Linked DNA regions of Homo sapiens: all the other regions are linked to region 3. The links are contacts of gene promoters, found by promoter capture Hi-C in blood cells and fetal thymus (Javierre and others, 2016). All regions are on one chromosome and are shown on one strand. The core of a region is centred on a gene start or on the middle of the fragment in contact, and the rest is flanking DNA. Distances in the headings are between cores, read along the strand shown. Region 1 overlaps MAST2 (microtubule associated serine/threonine kinase 2). Region 2 overlaps ZSWIM5 (zinc finger SWIM-type containing 5). Region 3 holds the start of PRDX1 (peroxiredoxin 1).

Region 1 (4,299 bases), core at 1,380-3,879, 370 kb before region 3:
AATGTTTGGAACAAGTTCAAATGATTGCCAATTTGTGTTAAACTCTATAGTAGGCTCTGGGATCAGCATATTGTACCGCACAACATGGTCCTGACCTCACGGAGCTTACCATCTGCTATGGACTAAACTGTGTCTCCCCAAAATTCATGTTAAAGCTTTTACCCCCAATCTGACTATATTTCCATATAGGTTCTTTAGGAAGTAATTAAGGTTAAATGAGGTCATAGGGGTGGCTCTAATCCTATAGGACTGTTGGGCTTGAAAATGAAGGAAAAAATAAGGAAGGAGGGAGAAGGAAGAAGAAAAAGAAGAAGAGACAGATCTATGCCCCTATCCTCAGGCTGGTGTACCACATAAAGGCCATGTGAGCACACAGCAAGAAGGCCACTCTCTGCAAGCCAGGAAGAGAGGTTTACCAGAAACTTAGCATGTTGTCACCTTCTTGGACTACTAGTTTGCATAACTGTAAGAAAATAAATTTTTGTTATTTAAGCATGTGGTATTTTGTTACAGCAGCCTGAGCTAATACTTACATACTACACAACGGGAAAAGGCAGACAAATAGTTCTTTATTTACAACTGATGTAAGAGCTATGAAGAAAAAGTAGAGGCTTTATTGAAAGTATGTTCTGGGAAACCCAACTTAGTCTACAGACAGCAAGGTTTGGGTGAGGTCAGGAACGCCTTTCATAAGGAAGTGAGGTGTAAGCTGGGACTTGAAAGGTGTGTAGGAACTAGATTGGTATAGATGGAAAAAGAACATTCCAGCTGGGCACGGGGGCTCATGCCTGTAATCCCAGCACTTTTGGGAGGCCGAGGCAGGCGGATCACGAGGTCAAAAGATTGAGACCATCATGGCCAACATGGTGAAACCCTAAAAATATAAAAATTAGCTCAGCGTGGTGGAGCGCACCTGTAGTCCCAGCTACTTGGGAGGCTGAGGCAGGAGAATTGCTTAATCACCTGAGGTTGGGAGTTCGAGACCAGCCTGACCAATGTGGTGAAACCCTGGCTCTACTAAAAATAAAAAAAAAAAATTAGCTGGGTGTCATGGCGTGCACCTGTAGTCCCAGCTACTCAGGAGGCTGAGACAAGAGAATTGCTTGAACCCAGGAGGTGGAGGTTGCAGTGAGCCAAGATTGCGTCACTGTACTCCAGCCTGGCAACAGAGTGAGATTCTGCCTCAAAAAAACAAAACAAAACGAAACAAAACAAAAATTCCAGGCACAGAGAACACATTGTGTAAAACATGGAGAAAAATATAGCAACCACACTGTATAGATAGTCAGGTGTGATCCTAAGAGTAAGAAAAAATTCACCAAAGGCCAGGTGCAGAGGCTCACACCTGTAATCTCAGCACCTCGGAAGGCCGAGGAAGGCAGGTAGTTTTAGCCCAGGAGTTTGAGACCAGCCAGGGCAACATGGCAAAACCCCACCTCTACAAGAAGTACAAAAATTAGCTGGGTGTGGCGGCGTGCACCTGTGGTCCCAGCTACTTGGGAGACTGAGGTGCGAGTACCACCTGAGCCCAGGAAGGCTGGGGCTGCACTGAGCCGTGATCGCACCACTGTACTCCAACCTGGGTGACAAAGTGAGATTCTGTTTCAAAAAAAAAAAAATTTCACCAAAAAAGTTTAAATTAATATCTAATAATGAAATCCGCATTTTAAAAAGCTTTTCCTGGCTATTGTATGATAGTTAGGTAGACTGAGGGTGAGCAATGCCAGATAAAGAAAGGCCAGTTAGGAGGTTATGGCAGTAGCAGAGGCAAGAGATTACAATGGCTGTGACTATCTGGACAAACCAGTGGTAGTATAAAGAAAGAGAGAACACCAGCCGGGCACAGTGGCTCAGGCCTGTAATCCCAGCACTTGGGAGGCCGAGGCGGATGGATGATGAGGTCAGATTGAGACCATCCTGGCTAACGTGGTGAAACCCCGTCTCTACTAAAAATACAAAAAATTAGCCAGGCGTGGTGCACACATCTGTAGTACCAGCTACTGGGGAGGCTGAGGCGGAAGAATCACTTGAACCTGGGAGGCGGAGGTTGCAGTGAGGCGAGATTGTGCCATTGCACTCCAGCCTGGGCGAGAGAGCAAGACTCCATCTCAAAAAAAAAAAAAAAAAAAAAAAAAAAAAAAAAAAAGAGGCCGCGCGCGGTGGCTCACGCCTGTAATCCCAGCACTTTGGGAGGCCGAGGTGGGTGGATCACAAGTTCAGCAGATCGAGACCATACTGGCTAACAGAGTGATACCCGGTCTCTACTAAAAACACAAAAAATTAGCCGGGCGTGGTGGTGGGGGCCTGTAGTCCCAGCTACTCAGGAGGCTGAGGTGGGAGAATGGTGTGAACCCGGGAGGCGGAGCTTGCAGTGAGCCCAGATGGCGCCACTGTACTCCAGCTTGGACCACAGAGCGAGACTCAGTCTCAAAAAAATAAAATAAAATAAAAATAAAGACAGAACACCAAGAGATATTTGAGAGGTATAACAGAAAAGACTTGTGAGTGTAAGGAAGAGCATGGCAACAAAAATAACTAAATTTTCTATCTTGAGGAAGCAGTACCATTTAATAAGCTAGAGTATAAGAGAGGACCTGATTTTTGAGAAAGACAATGACTCAGATTCATAAATGCTGCAGTTCAGATGTCTCTGAAATATTCAGTCACATTATGGTGAATGGACAGTTATGAGATCTAGCGATATAAATGTGGGGATAATGAGCATGACAACTATTCTCAACATACAGTAACAAAAACAGGTTCTCAAGGATTTTCAGATCCCACCTACACAGGTAAAGCTCGCCAACAACTACATCCATTTTTTAACAACAAACTGGTTCCCTGTAGGGATATGAGTGATGACTATGGCTACTTCCCTCCCAACCTCTGCTACGTCCTGCCTTCCCATTGGACACTTAGAGAATCTATATGAAATTACTTCCCACCAACTTTTAAAAGACAGGGTCTTAAATGTAACACAAAGCTATCACTCTGGGCTTTAGAGTCTTGAAAGATTGCAAAATTTCCTGATTTTCAAAGCCCCACAGAAAACCTAAAGCCCTATATCAGACGCCACTGATACCTCAACAAAGGGTTTATTATGTGTATGCAGCAGGTGGTATCTCTTTTTAGCACATTTTCCAGAAGCATTGATCCAGGCATCAAGTTGCATCAGAATGGGAAAGTACATGACACTGTCAGTTTCATAGGAACAAAGTTTGACACATCACATCCCTGGGGCCCAGGAACTCCTCCCTGCCCACTATGCAGTGCCTATCACTGCAGACACCAGACATTAACTTTCATCCAATATCTGGTATCTAAGTCCACTGCCCAAATGAATAAGCTGACAAAATAAAAGGTTAACTATCCCCAAGGGCTCTAAAGACTACAAGCCAGCAATGCCAATAATATCAACACACACATATACACATACCCCATGATGAATGCAACCAACAGCTACCTCTCCACTCCTACAGTCTGTTATCTCAATTGACTGCTCATAGCCTCTAAGAAATAAAGCAAGACATTTCATGAAATATGAGGAAAATTATCTTAAGCCTAATGGGTATTAGAAAAGCTTTACTTTCAGGGTAACTGGAGACATAAGCATTATTTACATTAAGCTCCCAAATGCAGGGTCTAGGTACTGGTGCTGAAATTCACAAACAAAATAAACAGTCGCCAGGCATTGTGGTTCATGCCTGTAATCTAAGCACTTTGGGAAGCCAAGGTAGGCAGATAGCTTGAGCTCAGGAGTTCCAGACCAGCCTGAGTAACATAGTGAAACCCCATCTCTACAAAAAATACAAAAATTAGCCAGATGTGGTGGCAGGTGCCTGTGGTGCCAGCTACTCAGGAGGCTGTGATGGGAAGATCTCCTGAGGCCAGGGAGGACCAGGCTGCAGTGAGCTGAGACTGCGCCACTGCACTCCAGCCTAGGCTAAAGAATGAGACCCTGTCACAAAAACAAACAAAATAACAACAACAGCAAAAGAAACAATCCTATTTGAAAGGAATCATCAAAAAGAGGCCCCCACTATAGCATTGGGCAAGAAAAGCCATTCAGAGCTGCTTCAATTATGAAAAAGTAAAATATAAAACCCTTCTAGCCTGGGTAAACAGATACAAGTAACTTTAGAACTTCAAAATCTTCTTTTCACAGATATTGTACTTTGAACAAAGTTATCAACTCCCTTAGGTCTGATATTCTAAACTACATTTTTAATGCATTAAAAAAATACCCAGATGGGTTTAAATATGAAATAGCTTTCTAAAAATGAAAATGATTTAGTTTCA
Region 2 (4,068 bases), core at 160-2,659, 490 kb after region 3:
CAATTGCATAATAATATTTTCTGGTTTCCTTTGAACTTTCTTCCACATGATGGTTTTGTACCAATTTTACAAATAAGAAATAGAGGAGAATAATTTAATAGAGCCTCAAGACTCTATTAGAGTAGCCAAGAATAGATAGAGACAAAATTGATTCTTTTTTCTTTTATACCTTCACTTACTGTATACATATATCTACTTTAGTATTTAGCATGCTACATTACAATTTATTTACAAATAGTTCTCTCTTACTAGACTGTCAGCTACTTGAAAACAGAAATTATGACTTCTTTATCTTTGTGTTCCTAGCACTTAGTGGAGGACCTGACATTTAACAATCTTTCATAAATACTTATTAGATAGATGAGGGAGAAAAGAAAAGAAACCAAGACTTTGACTTTTAAACCGTGCTTACTTCCTGAAATTGTGCACCCACTGGTGGAGCATATGAGATAATAGTAACATAAAGGTTGCAAATGTTACAAAAGTTAAGAGTTTAACTGTAGGGATTCAGATTTCTCTGGGTAGAGATATAAGGGGTGGCCCCAAGCCAAGTGCAGGCTGCTCCTTATCTTCCCTCTGATCCCTTGCAAAGTGAATCATCATCTTTGGTCTGTTTCATCTGTACAGTGACATTTACATCTTGGAAACCTGAGTTTGCACTTGGGTTTATTCATTCACCACTAACACATAGCAATACCTAGAACAACAAGATGGTCTAATCCCTTTAAGGTGTTCACATTCTATGAAAGAGACAGAAACAAAAACAGACAATTACAGCATTACATAATGTGCTAGCAAAATATAAGATTTTATACTTCCCTAACTGGCTTAGCCAGTTCATATATTAAGAAGGAGATGGGCCGGGCGCAGTGGCTCTCGCCTGTAATCCCAGCACTTTGGGAGGCCAAGGCAGGCAGATCACCTGAGGTCAGGAGTTGGAGACCAGCCTGGCCAACATGGTGAAACCCCATCTCTACTAAAAATATAAAAATTAGCTGGGTGTGGTGGTGTGTGCCTGTAATCCCAGCTACTCAGGAGGCTGAGGCAGATGAATTGCTTGAACCCAGGAGGCGGAGGTTGCAGTAAGCCGATACCGTGCCACTGCTCTCCAGCCTGGGAGATGGAGCGAGACTCCCTCTCAAAAAAAAAAAAAAAAAAAAGGAGGTGGGGCTGGGCATGGTGGCTTATGCCTATAATCCCAGCATTTTGGGAGGCCAAGGTGGGAAAATCACTTGAGCCCAGGAGTTTGAGACCAGCCTGGGCAACATAATGAGACCCTATCTCTACAAAAAAAAATTAAAAATTATCTGGGCATGGTGGCATGTGCCTGTAGTCCCAGCTACTCAGGAAGCTGAAGTGGGAGGGTCGCTTGAGCCCAAGAGGTTGAGGCTGCATCAGTGACCCATGATTGCACCACTACACTCCCGCCTTAGCAACCAAGCAAGACTCTGTCTCCAAAAAAATTAAAAAAGAAAGAAGTGTGAATCTTTGTGGCTCTGTGTAACCTTTTTTTCAGTATATTTTCCTTACTATTCTGGGGTTCTGATTCAGCTTCCCTATGATAGCTGTTGACCAAGCTGTATCCCAAAGGTGGGAGGGAAAGACAGAAGACTAGGCCGAATACGGTGGCTCACACCTGTAATCCCAGCACATTCGGAGGCCGAGGTAGGCAGATCACCTGAGGTCAGGAGTTTGAGTCCAGCCTGGCCAACATGATGAAACCGCCCCTCTACTAAAAATACAAAAATTCGACAGGTGTTGTGGCATGCTCCTGTAATCCCAGCTACTTGGGAGGCTGAGGCAGGAAAATCGCTTGAACCGGGGAGGCGGAGGCTGCAGTGAGCTGAGATTGCACCACTGTACTCCAGCCTGGACAACAGAGCAAGACTCTGTCTCAAAAAAAAAAAAAAAAAAGAAAGAAGACTCTACCAAGCCTAACCTAAAGAATTTGGTGCCCTGTTGCCCTCAGATATGAATGAAAGCAGACCCCCTGTGTACCAGCATGTACCTGTGGCTGCAGGCTCCCCAAACAGCAGTGAGTCCTACCTGTCATTGGCCCTGGAAGTTGCACTGATGGGCCTGGGTCAACAGAGGTTAATGCCTGAAGGCCTCTACGCACAGGACAAGGTATGCCGTAATGAGGAGCAGCTCCTGAGCCAACTCCAAGAGCTGCAGCTGGACGATGAGCTAGTGCAAACACTGCAAAAACAATGCATCTTACTGCTGGAAGGTAAGTAGAAAAGAGTCTCTTGTCACGGTGTCTTTGGCCCATGACCCTGAGCTCCCCTCTCCAATAGAGTACAAGTACAGGAACATTTATGACATTAAAATGTAGTGAATGAAGGTTCCCATGATTAGCAAACATGCATGAGATACTGGGGCTCAAGTCCAGGCTGGCAGATGGAAGCATACAGATAAATAACTGGCTGGCTTATCTTCCTCCAGGAGGTCCTTTCAGCGGTCTGGGAGAAGTCATCCACCGAGAGAGTGTTCCCATGCATACCTTTGCCAAGTATTTGTTCTCAGCTCTGCTGCCTCATGATCCAGACCTGTCCTATAAATTAGCCTTACGTGCCATGAGGTGGGTAGCCCTTTCCCAGTCCAATTGCCTCCACCAAAGCAGAAGTGTCCAGTGCTCTTTTTCATTGCTTATTTCACTTTCTTTTCTTTCCCTCTTTGTCATTCTGTTGGACCCGCTACCAAGTGTACCTTAAAATGGCTCAGATATTTTTATATGATCTAGGATTCATATCTGGATTCCTTGTTGGTGACTTGGTTCCCTGGCAGTACTCATGGTTGATTGTCTGAGGAAGCCCCTGAGATGTTAATAAATAAGGAGCACTTAAGACCTGAGTCTTCCTGTTCAGTGGTTATTCAGGCAAGCTGAGAAGGGGTCTGAGCCCTTCTGTAGTTCAACTCAGTCAAGGTTCCCAGGCACAGGTCCCCAGAAGAAGCTGGGGGAAGTAGAGATAAATATGTTTACCCCAAGACTTGAGAACAATGAGCTATGGGCATCTTGTTTCCAGGCTAGAATAGGATCCTTGGTTTAGGCAGTTAAACCTCTGGGATGTAGCAGACTATACAGAAGAAGAATTTTAGTCAGACTGTAAGGCTGGGAGAATACCTTAGCTAAAACAGGAAATTCCTTGGCATGTATTTCTTATACTTTTAGAAATAACCAGGCTGGGTACGGTGGCTCAAGCCTATAATCCTAGCACTTTGGGAGGCCGAGGCAGGTAGATTGCTTGAGCCCAGGAGTTTGAGACCAGCCTGGGCAGCATGGTGAAACCCCATCTCTACAAAAACAAAAAATACAAAAATTAGCCAGGCATGTTGGTGCACACCTGAAGTCCCAGCTACTCAAGAGACTGAGGTGGGAGGATCGCTTGAGCCTGGGAGGTCGGGGCTGCAGTGAGCTGTGATTATGCCACTACACTCCAGCCTATGCAACAGAGAGAGACACTGTCTCAAAAATAAATAAAATAAACAACCCTATGATTCTTTTTAAAAATGTATTAACTTTTCTCTCTTTTTACAATATATCATACTATTCAACCCGATAGCTCTTGAACGGCCTTTCACATCCATTTGTAGTGGAAACTATTCAGCGTTGAGTACTCTTAAGTGCCCAGGCACTCACCTCATATAGTGTATAGTACCATAGGTTTAAAAACCTTCAAAGCTCTTAGTTAATCCTTTCCTCTCCCCAGTTCCTCCCCAGCAAAGAGCAAGCTTCTCTAAGGTGGCTCGGAAGCCCAGGGTCTGGATGGTGGCTGATGATTCTTCCTGGGTCTTCCAGGTTACCTGTTTTAGAAAACTCAGCTTCTGCAGGCGACACATCCCACCCTCACCATATGGTGTCTGTGGTGCCCAGCCGTTATCCTCGCTGGTTCACGCTTGGACACTTGGAATCACAGCAGTGTGAACTGGCCTCCACCATGCTGACTGCTGCCAAAGGTGAGCATAGATAGACCTTAAGCTCCAGCATCACCCGTCTGCCTGCCCAACCATGGCATGTCAAAGGCTTGGCCTGCAGTCTCCTGAGAAAGAGAAGCTCCTTGACCATTT
Region 3 (4,601 bases), core at 1,994-4,493:
TCACTGACTGAGCTCCTATTTTATATCAGATGCTTTGTTGTGACTTTGGGGACACAGAGACAGATGTCACCCACATCCTACTCTCCAGAAAGTCACTCTAGCAGGCAGAGGAAGAAATGTAAAACTAAAATTGCTTAAAAGATTTTTTTGGCTATACAAGCTATTGTTTGGACACAAAGGAGGGGAATTGTAAATCCTGGGAATGAGTAAAGGTAAGAAACAGCCGGAGAGAAAGTAATGCTGAAAGACATGTTTTCTCCAGGGAAAGAGTTTTCCAGGTTCAAACAAAAGTCTGAAGGCGGCCGGGCTCAGTGGCTCACTCCTGTAATCCCAGCACTTTGGGAGGCTGAGGCAGGTAGATCAACTGAGGTCAGGAGTTTGAGACCAGCCTGGCTGACATACTGAAACCCCGTCTCTACTAAAAATACAAAAAATTAGCCGGGCGTGGTGGTGGGCGCCTGTAATCCCAGCTACTTGGGAGGCTGAGGCAGGAGAATTGCTTGAACGCTGGAGGTGGAGGGTGCAGTGAGCAGAAGTCGTGCCATTGCACTCCTGCCTGGGCAAGAAAAGCGAAATTCCATCTTAAAAAAAAAAGTCTGAAGGCTTGAAACAACTACACTGTGTTCTGGGTGTTATAAGTGTGAAGGATGGAAGAGTTATACTAATAGCAGCTAACATTTCTAATTTATAATAAGAACTAAGTACTGTACTGAACTACATAGATAATCACAATAAAGTATTAATATTATTCCCATTTTACAGTTGAGAAAAGTAAGGTTTAATGAGTTTAAGACTTGCCCAAGTTCACACCTAAAATTACAGTGAGGAGTTTTTGTGTTTGTGTGTGTGTGTTTTTTTTTGAGACAGAGTTTCGCTCTTGTTGCCCAGGCTGGAGTGCAATGGCGCTATCTCAGCTCACTGCAACCTCTGCCTCCCTGATTCAAGCGATTCACCTGCCTCAGCCTCCAGAGTAGCTGGGATTACAGACATGCGCCACCACACGTGGCTAATTTTGTATTTTTAGTAGAGATGGGGTTTCTCCACGTTAGGCTGGTCTCGAACTCCTGACCTCAGGTGATCTGCCCTCCTCAGCCTCCCAAAGTGCTGGGATTACAGACATGAACCACCGCGCCCGGCCCTGACAGTGAGGAGTTTTAACTCAGTAAATTGACTACAGAGCCTCAGCTTTTATTTTATTTTTTATTTTTCTTTTCTTTTTAAATTTTACTTTCTTTCTTTCTTTAGCCCCAGCTTTTAAACCACGAATAACAGTGACATGATCAGACTTCAGAAAGATTTCCTTCAGCTGCAGTGGAAGGGATGGATAAGAGATAGTGTTAATTGAAATGAGTGACTAAACTGACTAAACCATGTCACAGACACTTTTGTGGCTGTTTCTTCCCCAGCTTTTAAACCACGAATAACAGTGACATGATCAGACTTCAGAAAGATTTCCTTCAGCTGCAGTGGAAGGGATGGATAAGAGATAGTGTTAATTGAAATGAGTGACTAAACTGACTAAACCATGTCACAGACACTTTTGTGGCTGTTTCTTCCCAAGAGGTTCTCAGGAGGTTTTTAGTATTTATACATTTTCCTTGAAAAGTGGGGGTGGGAAAGATTGAGGCAAAGACTTTAGCTAATGCTCAGGAAATCTACGTTTTGTTTTTTGAGACGGAGTCTTGCTCTGTTGCCAGGCTGGAGTGCAGTGGTGCTCTCGGCTCACTGCAACCTCTGCCTCCGGGTTCAAGCGATTCCCCTGCCTCAGCCTCCCAAGTAGCTAGGACTACAGGCGCGCCACCACACTCGGCTAAGTTTTTGTATTTTAGCAGAGACAGGGTTTCACCATGTTGGCCAGGATGGTCTCGATCTCCTGACCTTATGATCCGCCCTCCTAGGTGGCCTAAATCTACATTTTTACATAAGATAAGGTGAATGTTTGAAGAAAAAGGGAATGGAGGAAGAAAACAATTATGTGGTGGACTCAGGGTAATCTAGTAGTAAGGTACTACTAGAAAGGTAGAAAGTAGTCTAGTAGAAAGGTAATCTAGTAGTGAACATTTATGGAATTTGTGGAATAGAGGCCAGGTGCGGTGGCTCGCGCTTACATTCCTAGCACTTTGGGAGGCCAAGGCGGGCGGATCACCTGAGGTCAGGCGTTGGAGACCAGCCTAGCCAACATGATGAAACCTCGTCTCTACTAAAAATACAAAAAATTAGCTGGGCGTGGTGGTGCGTGCTTGTAGTCCCAGACACTCCGGAGGTGAGGCGGGAGAATCGCTTGAGCCCGGGAGGTGGAGGTTGCAGTAAGCCAACACCGTGCCACTGCACTACAGCCTGGGCGACAGGGTGAGTGAGACTCCGTCTCAAAAAAATGTGGAATAGAACAAACTTTAGTTTTAGGAACTAGACTTTATATTGTAGATCTAGTTGCAATTGACACGTCCTTGTTTTATGGGAGGCTACATACTTTAAAGGTTTCCAGGGGAGCAAATAATTAATTATGATTTTGTGTATGTGTGTTTGTGGGGGGTAGTCATCAGGAAATGTCTGAGGCCTTTTGCCTTACCGTGTGGGTCTGGCTAATGTGTAATGTTTTGACTCAAGATTGTAAAGTCAAATTATTCATCCGGGGAGAGGATGGTCGTGTAACTGAATCAGCCTCCCAAGATGAACTTTCCCTCTGGCGTAAGTTTAGGAGTCCTGATATTTTATTTTCCTTTACAACAGAAAGCAGCAACCCTGTAATTAAAGAGAACAATGAAGGAAGCTATCTAAGCCATGAGGGTTACTGAGGATCTGCGCTGGGGTTAAGGCTGCGAACTTAAGAAATATTTGGATAGACAGTTCTCATGGCTTGGTGTGGTTAGACGTGGTCCTCCGTGGGCAGCAGCTAAGACGCTTACTCCAGTTTGGGCATTGAGGGCACAGTGCGTAGTGGTCCTGGAAGTAAAGAGAATCCTGGTTTTCCGCAGAGATCTAGGATTAACCTAAGCGTTCGGGTTCGGGAGCGGCCACAAGGGCGCCTCACTCCAACCTCAGCCATCCGCAACAGGGTGGGGTATTAGTATTTTTCCGCACCCGCCCCAACGAGGGAAAGCGCCGAGTCATTCCGGCGGGGCGCGCCGGGCGGGGCTCGGGCCACATCCCCCTCCTCTCTCTCCTCCTCCGGCACCCCCGTCCGTTCCGACTCTCGCGAGATCCCTACTGGCTATAAAGGCAGCGCCCCGGAGAGCTCTTGCGCGTCTTGTTCTTGCCTGGTGTCGGTGGTTAGTTTCTGCGACTTGTGTTGGGACTGGTGAGTGTGGGCAGTGCGGCCCCTGCGGAGTGAGGCGCGGCGCGCCCTTCTTGCCTGTTGCCTCTTCCTCCTCCTGTCCGGGGCCCGCCCGCGCTCGGGTGGGGGTGCTGTGATGCGTGAGGCAGCCGGGGGAGGCCCGGAGTCCGAGACTGCTTGAGCGCTGCGCACACCCCTCTCGTGGGCCCCCCACGTAGGTGCGGGAACCTGGTTGAACCCCAAGGCAAGCGTGGACTCGAGTCGAGTCTTCCCCCGGCAACTCGAGCACGTGGCGCGGCGTCTGGGCGGGCTGGTGGTGGGGGTCTCCGAGACTAGCCTCCTGCCGGACGGGGTGGGTTCGGGAAGCTTCTGGAATGGACCTGTATCCAGACTCGTGGCTGTAGAAGACAGCCTCTATGTATTTGGCTGTTCCGGGTCCTGAGCCTTGACTAGCTGCGGAGCTTCGGGTACCCTTTCCCCGTCTTTATTTTCCTGTACGTGGAATGGAGTTAGCGATGAGCCCAAATGTCCCCGCTGAAGCACTCTCTCTGCTGGTGCTTTCTCCAGTGCTGGGGAGGGACAGGGGGCACCTGAAGTGGGGTTTAGGGATGTGGCCCTCTACGCTGGGCAGATCCCCTGAAGGGGCCCGGTGGCGGCCTGAATCCCAGCAGCCTTTACCCCGAATTGGTTGGGTTTTGTACTTGGGGGCCACTTGGGAAAGAAGGATTGGACGAGAAGGCCATTTGGGGGCACCAAGTTGCAGCATGCCTTAGTTTTTGGTTTTTGTTTTTTGTCGTTAAAGGTGTTAAGGACTTTTTAAAAAACAGTTAAAAGTTTGCTAAGATCCATGCTTACAAAATTTCTTTTGCTTGTGGTATTGTGAACTAAGAACTTTGGGACTTGGAAAAGCTTTCAGACCGCGGCTTAGTGGGTTAAATCTCTGTTTTTTGAGCTAGAGTCTCGCTCTGTCGGCCAGGCTGGAGTGCAGTGGCGCGGTCTCGGCTTACTGCAACCCCTGTCTCCCGAATTCAAGCAATTCTTCTGCCTCAGCCTTAGGAGTAGCTGGGATTACAGGCTTGTGCCACCAAGCCCCGGCTAATTTTTGTATTTTTTTTTTTTTTTTTTTTTTGAGACGGAGTCTCGCTCTGTCGCCCAGGCTGGAGTGCAGTGGCTGGATCTCGGCTCACTGCAGCCTCCGCCTCCCGGGTTCACGCCATTCTCCTGCCTCAGCCTCCCGAGTAGCTGGGACTGCAGGCGCGTGCCACCACCCCCGGCTAATTTTTTGTATTTTTGTTAGAGACGGGGTTTCACTATGATGGCCAGGCTG

What was found. Contacts are between HindIII fragments. The CHiCAGO score rates a contact against its expected background, and 5 or more counts as called.
Region 1: a fragment that was not itself captured here is called in contact with the fragment with the promoter of PRDX1 in region 3 in 1 of 17 cell types (megakaryocytes); the score reaches 5.1 in megakaryocytes.
Region 2: a fragment that was not itself captured here is called in contact with the fragment with the promoter of PRDX1 in region 3 in 1 of 17 cell types (neutrophils); the score reaches 5.0 in neutrophils.

The regions. Positions count from the first base shown.
Region 1 is chr1:45,886,511-45,890,809 of GRCh38, reverse strand. All of the region lies in intron 4 of MAST2 (microtubule associated serine/threonine kinase 2), which reads right to left. The region is part of intron 2 of LOC105378694 (a long non-coding RNA gene); the gene reads left to right. Among named protein-coding and RNA genes, the nearest start is that of MAST2, 85 kb to the right of the region's middle. The HindIII fragment of the contact is 1,906 bases long and covers 1,677-3,582 here.
Region 2 is chr1:45,034,201-45,038,268 of GRCh38, reverse strand. It overlaps ZSWIM5 (zinc finger SWIM-type containing 5), which reads left to right. Exons shown (of 14, transcript NM_020883.2): 9 at 1,970-2,230; 10 at 2,446-2,581; 11 at 3,800-3,957. Among named protein-coding and RNA genes, the nearest start is that of UROD, 24 kb to the right of the region's middle. The HindIII fragment of the contact is 4,650 bases long and covers 1-3,734 here.
Region 3 is chr1:45,520,526-45,525,126 of GRCh38, reverse strand. PRDX1 (peroxiredoxin 1) reads left to right here and starts at 3,243. Exons shown (of 6, transcript NM_181697.3): 1 at 3,243-3,298. RefSeq lists an enhancer at 2,765-2,844 and a silencer at 3,887-4,049. The HindIII fragment of the contact is 8,348 bases long and covers 1-3,642 here.